Regions from separate parts of the Homo sapiens genome. Here region 2 is linked to region 1. Evidence: promoter capture Hi-C in human tissues and cell types (Jung and others, 2019). All regions are on one chromosome and are shown on one strand. Each heading gives the region's core, a stretch centred on a gene start or on the middle of the fragment in contact. The rest is flanking DNA. Distances are from core to core; before and after follow the strand shown. Region 1 holds the start of TLR6 (toll like receptor 6). Region 2 holds the start of LINC01258 (long intergenic non-protein coding RNA 1258).

Evidence for each region. The method cuts DNA at HindIII sites, captures the fragments that hold promoters and counts their contacts. A contact is called where the count stands out against the background at its distance.
Region 2: a fragment that was not itself captured here is called in contact with the fragment with the promoter of TLR6 in region 1 in 1 of the 25 tissues and cell types used here (dorsolateral prefrontal cortex).

What each region holds. Positions count from the first base shown.
Region 1 is chr4:38,854,120-38,859,278 of GRCh38, forward strand. TLR6 (toll like receptor 6) reads right to left here and starts at 2,698. Exons shown (of 2, transcript NM_006068.5): 1 at 2,642-2,698. RefSeq lists an enhancer at 3,147-4,346. The HindIII fragment of the contact is 6,137 bases long and covers 1,278-5,159 here.
Region 2 is chr4:38,520,858-38,526,169 of GRCh38, forward strand. It overlaps LINC01258 (long intergenic non-protein coding RNA 1258), which reads right to left and starts at 2,323. Exons shown (of 8, transcript NR_110951.1): 1 at 2,246-2,323. RefSeq lists an enhancer at 3,497-3,546. The HindIII fragment of the contact is 4,596 bases long and covers 167-4,762 here.

The DNA.
Region 1 (5,159 bases), core at 1,448-3,947:
CTGAATAATTTGCCAAAAATCAATTGCCAATAATATGAATAATGTGCAATCTCACAAAAAATAAAACAGCACGTTAAATCAAAAAAGCACATAACATCTAGATGAAACTCATGATCTTGGATTAGATCTCAGTTAAGACAGACTTGCTATAAAACATATTCAGTAACAGAAGGAGGGGCAGATTCTATGATGGACCAGCCATTAGATGCTATTAAGAAATAAATTGTAATTTTTTATAATGTTATTTGGCTATTTTAGGAAAATGTAATTTTTTTAGAGATAGAGAATAAAGCTTTTAGAAATAGGTTTCCAGAATGCCTGTTATTTTTACTATAAGATATTTAAGCATAAAAAGAGGAAGGGGGTCAAAGGAGGACTCTTGTTTCTTAAAAGATTTTTTAAAAGGCAAGATTTTTTTTTCACCTATCAAATAGGGAAAATTAAAAAATATAATATCCAGGTTGGTAGGTGGAAACTAAAATAAGAACCCTCATTTACTACTTAGGCAGGAATGAAAAATTAGTACAAGCTTTCTAAAGGGTAATTTGGTAATTTACATAAATTTCTTAAAAATATACCTTCCTTTATTTTAGCAATTCCACTACAAGGAATTTTCTAAAGAAATAGTCAAAAATAACACACAGAAGATATGACTATAAGGATACTCATGACATAATGAAATATTGAAAAAATCAGAATGTCTAGTGTAGAAAATGATTAAATCAGTTATGTATAATTAAATAATAGCCTCAAATACTGTACTTTGAAAAAATGATAATGTTAAATGAATACAGTAATAGAAAATTATGGCCGGGCGCAGTGGCTCACGCCTCTCATCCCAGCACTTTGGGAGGCCAAGGCGGGTGGATCACGAGGTCAGGAGATCGAGACCATCCTGGCTAACGGTGAAACCCCGTCTCTACTAAAAAAAAATACAAAAAAATTAGCCGGGCGTGGTGGCGGGCGCCTGTAGTCCCAGCTACTCGGGAGGCTGAGGCAGGAGAATGGCGTGAACCCGGGAGGCGGAGCTTGCAGTGAGCCGAGATCGTGCCGCTGCACTCCAGCCTGGGCGACAGAGCAAGACTCCGTCTCAAAAAAAAAAAAAAAAAATTATATATGTAGTAAGACTCTAATTTTGCAAAATATGATTAAAACCTGACATATACGTAAAAGCTAGAGGACAAACAATGTGATGAAATATACCAAATACTAATAATAGTGGTTCTCTGAATCTCTGAATTATAGATGAATTTAATTTTCTTTCTTATACTTTCAGATATCCCTAAAATGTCTCATTTTGAATGTCCTTTATAATCCAAAAAAGTTATCGTAAGGCAATTTAAGAGTTGTCTTTATAGCTGTGTGAAAATATTTTATATTTAAAGAAACGTGCTTGTTTTATTTGGAATATTAAAATATAAAGATGGAGAACTTTCAGATAATAGTAGATAACTGGCATTCACAGATGAGGACCTACCCTACAGGTCCCCGGCAACCAGACCCACGGTGTCTGGGTTCATGGGACTGAAAATCAGTCACCAGGTGGAAAAGCTGGTCAGCTGTCCTTATGGTATCCTGCCACAAAAACGCAATATTCCTCCAGAGGCGTTCATACCCTGAGGCAGTTCCTAGGGAATACACTAAATGAACAAGATAGTAACTTTTCTATTTATTGGGAAAAAAGGAGGGAAAAATGGGAAGATGAGAGTGGAAGATTAGAGAGTTCACAGTTTTTTAAAGAAAGTAAAAATAAACAGGTAAATGCTCTTGATTTTTTAAATGCATCAAATAAAAAGGGTGAGGAAATAGATGAAATAAGCTACATTTCAGAAAAAAAGGGTAGACAAGACCTATGAAAATTAAAACTACAAGGAAGAAGAGAGCAGAAAAAAAATTAAGTGAAATAAGTGGAGGAAAGATCACATAATCAAGTTAACAAATAGGCAAGAAAAACATTGTTTCATTTGTCAAACTGAAGGTGGAAGGACCTGGAGGAAGGCAATTGCTACACTGTGCCAGATTCAAGCTTGTGAAGGGGCTTGGTCCCGGCCACTTCCTCCATTTAATAAATGTTTATTCAGAGTCTATTTTTCTGCCAGTGCCATGCTACGCACTAGGCACCAGGGATATAAATATGAATAGGACTGACATAATTCCTGCTTTCAAAAAGCTTATGAATTAGGGACAGACACAGACCAGCAAACTGTTACAGTGACAAACGACAAGGGAGATCAAACACACGTCTGCTGTAAAAACATATAATAAATAGGTGCCATATCAGTGGTATATAAAAATTACTGTTAAATGTTACTGAAAACAATAAACTAGAGAAAGACGAAAAGAGAAAATTCGCTGGGCCAAATCAGAAGAAATAAATAACATTAGTTTTGTTCCTTAATTATCACCACAAGCGCTAGTTGTTTTCTATCTTTTCAAGACAGCTGTAAAGACGCTGCTCTTCATCCTGCTCGTGAAATTCAAAGGACATTTGCAACATCTACAAAAAAAACCACTTCAAATCATTTTGCAAAAATTTCAAGGAAACATTACCTATTTCCTATATAATGAATGGTTAGCAAACTTGCTTACTTGAAGCACCTGTGCCATAATGTGAAAAAGCCACAGAAGTCTTTCTACTTACCAAGATCTCTTTTTCAGAAGAAGAGAAAATAACTTGTAAATGAACGGAAATACAATTGAAAATGCTTGACAAACACAAGTTCTTAAAGTTGAGTAAAGCGGTACCTTAGAAACAGATTGGTGCCATCTGTTGGCCCACACTGGAATTACTCCTACGTATATTTTTACCTTTCAAAGGTCCGGAGGTGAGTTAGCAGTTTTTTCTGGGCTACAGACAAAACCAGTAATCCAATTTTCTAATTCGTGTGAGGAAGCAACTTACAAACAATTCAATGTGAAGAAAAATATTTTTCTAAGGTAATATTTCTCTGTAAGAGTTTGCAGCCTGGTTATTACATTTGTCACCTGAGTGGAAAGTTATTTTAAACAGCCTGTTTTCTATTATCACCATATTTAACATTTCAAGAATAATTGCAGTTTCCCTTATCAAGCAATTTTGAGCATTATTTTAGCTGGATGAGATAGTTTAAAATAAAATAAGTATAGTTCCACAATTTGGGTTTTTTTTTAAAAATCAACTTCTAAGGAAAGTTTACTGGTTGATACATATTTATGACTACATATTTAGCCATATGTACGAGCAATCATACCCACATTCTGATCAACATTTGGTGTTATTAAATGGTTTAGATTTTAATTTAGGAATAATAAATAACACTGAAATCCTGCAAGACTAATTTAAAAATCAATTTTCTAAAGACCATTTAGAAGAATTTCAGAATGACATCAACAAAGGCTGATTACCAGAAGTCTCTGGTTAAACAGAGACTTCTGGTGGACAGTAAACCCTTTTCCCCAGACTTCTTGCTTAACTGAGTTCTGCAAAGGACAGAAGGCATGAGTGAAACAATCATTCTATAATTTATCTCACTGTCTGGCACAATCTCATCTTTATTAAAAAAAAAACAACAACAAGTTAAGACCTTACAATTTGGCTAATGACAAAGTTGGACATCTCCGTAAGAATCACTTCTGCTTTCAGGAGGAAGAGAAAGGCTGGCTTCTTGTGATTCATCCTTACTCATCAAACATAACAGGAAGTCTCCTCAGGCCTGGGGAGGCTCAGTAAGGAGTGGATGGATCTCTGCTCCACTGGCAAAAGGAGACAGCCAGAAAGCAGCAGGTATCTGTGACCCTGGAAAACCAGATTTGTGAAACAAGCCAAGGGAAAGGGCTGGCTGTGGCTCTGAGGGAATTTCAAGTAACCGTGGACTAAAGTCTTAAGAAAACAGACAACTATCACTGCAGATCTGGGCACATTGACATGTCTCATTAGGAGATTGCATCACAACACCAATGTTCAGAAACAAGGAGACTATTCTTGTCGAGGCTGTCATAACTCAGAAACGTCTGTAAGGGGATGACAAAAACACAAAAATCAAGTAATAGCGAAGATGGCAATGACAGTTAAGCAAACAAAGAAACAGACAGTACTGGGCCGAACCTCCACTTGGCCACTTACTGTGAGGCTTGGGACAAGTCCCTTAACCTCCATTTATTCATCCACAAAATGGGAGTACTTTTAGGAAAGATAATGAATTTAAAGTGGCTGGAATAGTGACTGACACAGAAGAGAAGTCATAATAGTAAGGAGTTTGGTGCAAATCATATAGTTTTTTTGTATGCTGAGGGGTAAAGATTTCAGGATATACTATGAAGTGAAGAAAATCAAGGTGCAGGCTGGGCACGATGTCTCATGCCTGTAATCCCAGCACTTCGGGAGGCCGAGGTGGGTAGATCACCAGAGGTCAGGAGTTCGAGACCGGCTTGGCTAACATGGCGAAACCCTGTCTCTACTAAAAATACAAACATTAGCTGGGTATGGTGGCAGGCAACTGTACTCCCAGCTACTCGGGAGGCTGAAGCAGGAGAATCATTGGAACCCAGGAGGCAGAGGTAGCAGAGAGCTGAGATTGTGCCACTGCACTTCAGCCTGGGCAACAGAGTGAGACTCTGGCTCAAAAGAAAAAAGAAAGAAAGAAAGAGAGAGAGAGAGAGGGAGAGAGAGAGAGAGAGGGAGAGAGAGAGAGAGGGAGAGAGAGAGAGAGAGAGAGGGAGAGAGAGAGAGAGAGGAAGAAAGAAAGAAAGAAAGAAAGAAAGAAAGAAAGAAAGAAAGAAAGAAAGAAAGAGAGAAAGAAAGAAAGAAAAGAAAGAAAGAAAATTAAGGTGCAGAACTGTAAGAAGAGTATGACATCAATTGTATAAAATCTAGCCATTTACACAGGTTATCTTCTTGCCAGGCATTGCTGTGACTACTTTCCAAGTATTAACTCATTAAGGTGCTGTGAGATAAGTACTGTCACGTCATCTCCACTTAGCGCAGCTGGGTAATCGTTCCAGCTTGCACTGCTGGTCAGTGGTGGGGGTGGGATTCGAACCCAGGCAGTTTGGCCCCAGTGCCTATGCACTTAAGCATCATACTATGCTGCCTTAGAAGACACCCTGTGTCCTCATAAGACACACAGAGAAGAGAGATACAGAGAAGCAGAGCATTTGCAAACAGAGGCAGAGACTGGGGT
Region 2 (5,312 bases), core at 1,215-3,714, 330 kb before region 1:
CCTCAATACACAGTAACAGGAATGGTACTTTATCACTGTGATTTTCCTTCCAAAAACCCATAACTTCAGTCTAATCATGAGAAAACCATCAGATAAATTCCAGTAGGGGGGTATCCTACAAAATGCTTGATCAGTACTCCTCAAAACTGTCAAAGTCACCAAAAAGTCTGAGAAACAGTCACAGCCAACCAGGAGCCTAAGGAGACACGGCAAATAAGTGCCACATGGAACCTGGATGAGATCCAGAGGGAGAAAAAGGACATTAAATAGAAACTAAGGAAATGTGAGCAAACTATGGACTTTGGTTCGCAATAATGTATCAATACTGGTTTATTTGTCATAACAAACCCACCATAAGGAAGGTGATATTAGCAATGGGGTAAACTGGGTGACAGAGTGTACTGTACACGGGAACTCTATACTATCTTCTCAATTTTCCTGTGAATCTATCACTGTTCTAAAAAGTAAAGTTTATTAAAAAAAAAAAAAAAAGTTTGAGCTCTCACTTTCCCCTCCCCACATCTTATGTTTAGGGCCTGTTATGGGTTGAATTATTTACCCCCAAAATGCATATGTCCAAGTCCTAACACCTAGGACCTCAGTATGACTTTATTTGGAGGTGAGGTCTTTACAGAGGCAATCAAGTGAAAGTGGGGTCATTAGAGTGAGCCCTAATCCATTATGACTAGTGTCCTTATAAAAAAGAGCTATGCACAGAGGGAAGACACAGAGAGAAGATGGGCATCTACAAGGCCAAAGGGAGAGGCCTAGAACAAATCTTTCCTTCACAACCTGCAGAAGGACTCTGACAACATTTTGATCTGGTCTTCCAGACACCAGAACTGGGAGATGATAAATTTCTGTTGTTTAAGCCACCTGGTTCGTGGCATTTTGTTACGGCAGTCTTTGCACGCTAATAAAGGGGCCAAAGAGGAGGGGTTCAACTCATTTGCACCAGAGCAGAAGGATATAGGAGCTGGTGCTTTGAGTTGGAAGGGGCAAAGACCTAAACCATGTAAGCTGATTTCTCAGTGTTATGAAGCGGGGTGGAGGCTTGGAGTTTCTTTGAAATCCTTGCCCCACTTACACAGGGCTTCCCAGACATTGGGGTGTTATCATGGTTACATTCTGCAAGCTGCAGCCTCAAACCCTGGAAGAATGTCTGTGACAAAGCTTGCAGATAGTAAATCAGGCCACCAGGAAAGGAGATCCCCTGGATTTCGGTGTCCCAAAGGCACCAAGAAGGATAATGACCACAAGTGATGGAGAAGGGGCCAGCCGGACACGGTGGCTCACGCCTGTAATCCCAGCACTTTGGGAGGCTGAGGTGGGCAGATCACGAGGTCAGGAGATTGAGACCATCCTGGCTAACACGGTGAAACCCCATCTCTACTAAAAATACAAAAAATTAGCCAGGAGTGGTGGCAGGAACCTGTAGTACCAGCTACTTGGGAGGCTGAGGCAGGAGAATGGCATGAATCTGGGAGGCGGAGCTTGCAGTGAGCTGATATTGCACCACTGCACTCCAGCCTGGGCGACAGGCGAGATTCTGTCTCAAAAAAAAAAAAAAAAAGGGCCTCCTCTCTCATTTTTTAAGCACCACATAAGTCCCAAGGAGCGTGTTATTATAACCTTATGAAAGAGAATGGTTTCCCTAAAATGTAATTGTGATAAGATTTTTCAACCCTTAAAAGCAAAGGCTCAGACCCACAGTTAATTGAGAAATGTGACTTTTTTTTTTTTTTTATAGAGACGGGGACTTGTTATGTTGCCCAAGCTGGTCTTGAACTCCTGGCCTCTAGCAATCTTCCCACCTTGGCCTTTCAAAATGTTGGGATTATAGGAGTGAGCCAACACATCTGGCCAGAAATGTGACATTTTTGATCCAATGGTTGGGGTTCAAATTCAAGCTTGTTAAACAAATTAAGAAAATCAAAATCACCTATAACACGTCGTCTTATACCCATAACTTTCCAGAACACAGGTTGGCTCCTACAGATAATTTTACAATAGGCAGAATGCTAGCAACATTTTATGAGCTGTGGTATGCTTTCTCTAGGCTGTCTGTGATAGGTTGCCTTCATGGAGAGTCCAAAATCAAGACTGGGACAAGGGGGCTGTTGCTTAAGGCTTGAGCCAGATGTTGGATCTCCCCAGCAAGAGCATAGGTCATTTCTGGGACCTTCCCTTTCATCCTCACCAGAGTTCAACATCCACTCTGACAGGGAAAATGCAGAGGACCTACCATGAGCACATGAAATTCTGAAGCGTAACCCATCAGGCTTCTCCTCAGCCTGGCCCTCAAGACAACTAGGTCATCACTGATTCCAGATTCTCCTTATTCCAGACTCCACCCCCTGCAGTGTTCTACGTCTTCTGAAAGGGCCGGTGCAGGGCGCCCATGACTTGTCATTTTTCCTAGGTCAGCACATCCTTGTTCTCACCACTGGAAGTCAAGGCTGAAAAATCTGATTTGGTTCACCTGGCTTACTGGCACTATTTACTGGTGTGCACAGCAGATTTGATTTATGATAAGTCTGTTGAAAATGTCACTTTGGGGCTTTGAGGTGTGGTGGGGGTCGGGGGTGGATGCTGCATTTTGTTTTGGAAAAGAGGGCAGGACTTTTGCCTATGCTTTTCAAATAGGAGGAAAAATTAAGTTCACGGTTTGATTCCTAAAGAATCAAAAAGTGGAGCTAGATAAAAATCATACCAATAGGCAATTGGGAGATCCCAAGCCTTTTTCTTTTCCAGGAGAAACTTGAGTTTGAGTTTTCAAAATGAACGAAATATTTCCAAGGAAGTAAAAGTGGGCCTCCTTTGCCGGCCATCCCTCTTCCCCCATACCCTCTTCCTCTTTTCTCCTCCCTTCCTTCCCCTTTTCTTTTTTCATCTGCCCTTCAGTCACCATCTGTACTACTGTAGGAAATGGGAAAAAGACCTACGCTAAATCAGCATCCTACTCTACCTCTTACAAAGTCAGGAAAATATCTTTTTAAAAAAATGTTTGAAATTAATGCGCACCTATCCAGATCTCTGTTTGAACAAGGGCTGTCATTTCTGATAAAGGCACGGTTTTCCGAGATCGTGGAGAGCCCAAGTGTGGAGCTTTAAGAACCCTGACAACCACCAGTCTTGTTTCGGGTCATGAGTGCACCATTGGTTACCCTGATGTTGAGTCAGCATTCTCCAGACCACATAAAGGTCAGGTCTATCTTCACAAAGTGAAAGTGCTGAATTATATCGAAACCATAGAAAAAAAAATAAGCCAACCCTGCCTCGAGTCTCTAAGTCTCTGCTCCGACAGTTTTGTTTTTATCTGGAATTACAGTAAACTCATTTCGGCATGGTTGCGGCATGTGGTATTCTGAGTAACTGACTCTTCTACCTAATTGCAAGTTGCCACATACTCTCTACAGCCCTTCTTCCTTTCCCTGCGCCAGCTCCTCTGTCAGTTTCACCCGCTTGGCTGGGTCCAGACTTGTCTCCTTTTCTAGGTGGGGCAATAGATCAGTGGCCTGGGATACACCATGGTAGGTGGGACTTCAGAATTCAGGCACAGGCCAGGCGCACTGGCTTACACTTATAATTCCAGCACTTTGGGAGGCCAAGGCTGGCAGATCACTTGAGGTCAGGAGTTCAAGACCAGCCTGGCCAACATGGTGATACCTCACCTTACTAAAAATTCAAAAATTAGCTGGGCGTGGTGGCGGGTGCCTGTAATCCCAGCTACTCAAAAGGCTGAGGCAGGAGAATCGCTTGACTCCAGGAGGCGGTGGTTGCAGTAAGCCAAGATCGTGCCACTGCACTCCAGCCTGGGTGACAGGTCAACTCTGTCTCAAAAAAAAAAAAGAAGAGTTTAGGCACAAAGTCAACCAGAGTTGGACTGTGTGCATCCTGGGAGTCCTGGAGCCCCTTGGGGAACTCCTGCCCACCCTGTGTTGGGGGCAAAGAGTCAGGAAGGTTTGTGCTCAGATTCTGCCTCTGCTATGGCCTCTGATTACTCTGTGACCGCTGGCAAATTGTGACCTTACCTGTAAAGTGGGGACACTAATACCCCCTCACAGGACTGTTGAAAGAACTGGAGATGATGCATGTAAAATCATTTGGCACAGAGTAGGTGATCAGTGAATGTTGGTTCTTTTCTTGTGTCCTCATCCCCCACATCACAGCCTGCTCAATAATCCGGAGCCATGTCCCAATCTCTCTTCCTCCTTCTAGGATGGTCTCTCCCCGCCTTGGTGCCTATCTCCTCTGAAGGAGGGTGAGCTTCTCCTCCCACTGGGCTGTACAGCTCACCTGGCTGCACTGGCTGCTGAGCTTGGGGCCACAGATTAGTATCCTGGCTGGTTCCCAATGGCTGAATTACACTCACTAATGCCAATTGGTGCCGATGCTGGTCTTAACTTTGCCTGAGTATGCACTGTCCTTTGACCACTATGCCTCAGGCCACCGGGCCTCCTTCCCCAGCCTGGCCTCTGCAGCCCGAGCAGAGCCTCAGGTCACTCCCCATGCTCAGAGGAGCCCCGCATCTCATCTCCCTCGCTCCCTGCCCACCCACCTCCCTGCTGCAGTTCCTGCCTTTGTGCCAAGACCTGCTCCCGTTATGTCACGTGCCCTCCATGGATGGCTAATTTGCAAAGAATCAAAACTCAGAAAACGCATTTATAACTTAACCATATTGAGTCTAACTGTCTCTTTGATCATTTCAAAGGCAACTCAGGACCTTAAAAAGCCTCAGAATTGGCTTCCTAAGCACCAAGCCTTCTGGAAAATGGAAAATACAGGAGTAGGTTTAGGAGAATAATCTGAATGGTACTGGTCCCAAGACACCCCTGAAAATTAGGTGACTTTAAGCAAATTGCTTAATGTCTCTAAGCCTCAGTTTTCTTATCTGAAAGGAAGACAATTATACTTGACTCATGAGGTCTAAGGATCATGTAAATAAAAGGACTTGGTTAATTTTAAAATTCCTGATCTCAGCTTGATGTTTCTATTTTCATAAAAGCAGGGATTTGGGCTTCTTTAGCTGTTTAGACCTTGAGGGGGGAAAAAGGGTTACCTAATTATAATTTCACTATAATATTCCGTTCACGGTCCGGCTCTCTGAACAGACTATTAGCTCCTTGAGGCCAGGTATTGTGCTGGCTACTCTATAACCAGTTAGCACCAGCTGAATGTCCAGCTCAAAGCAGGCACTCAATGAACATTCACTGGATACGTGACTTCACCATGTACGTCACTGTCCTGGCCAAGCCTGGTGATCATGTCTCTATCATATTCTATCTGCAGGAAGAATCCTGTCAGCCTGG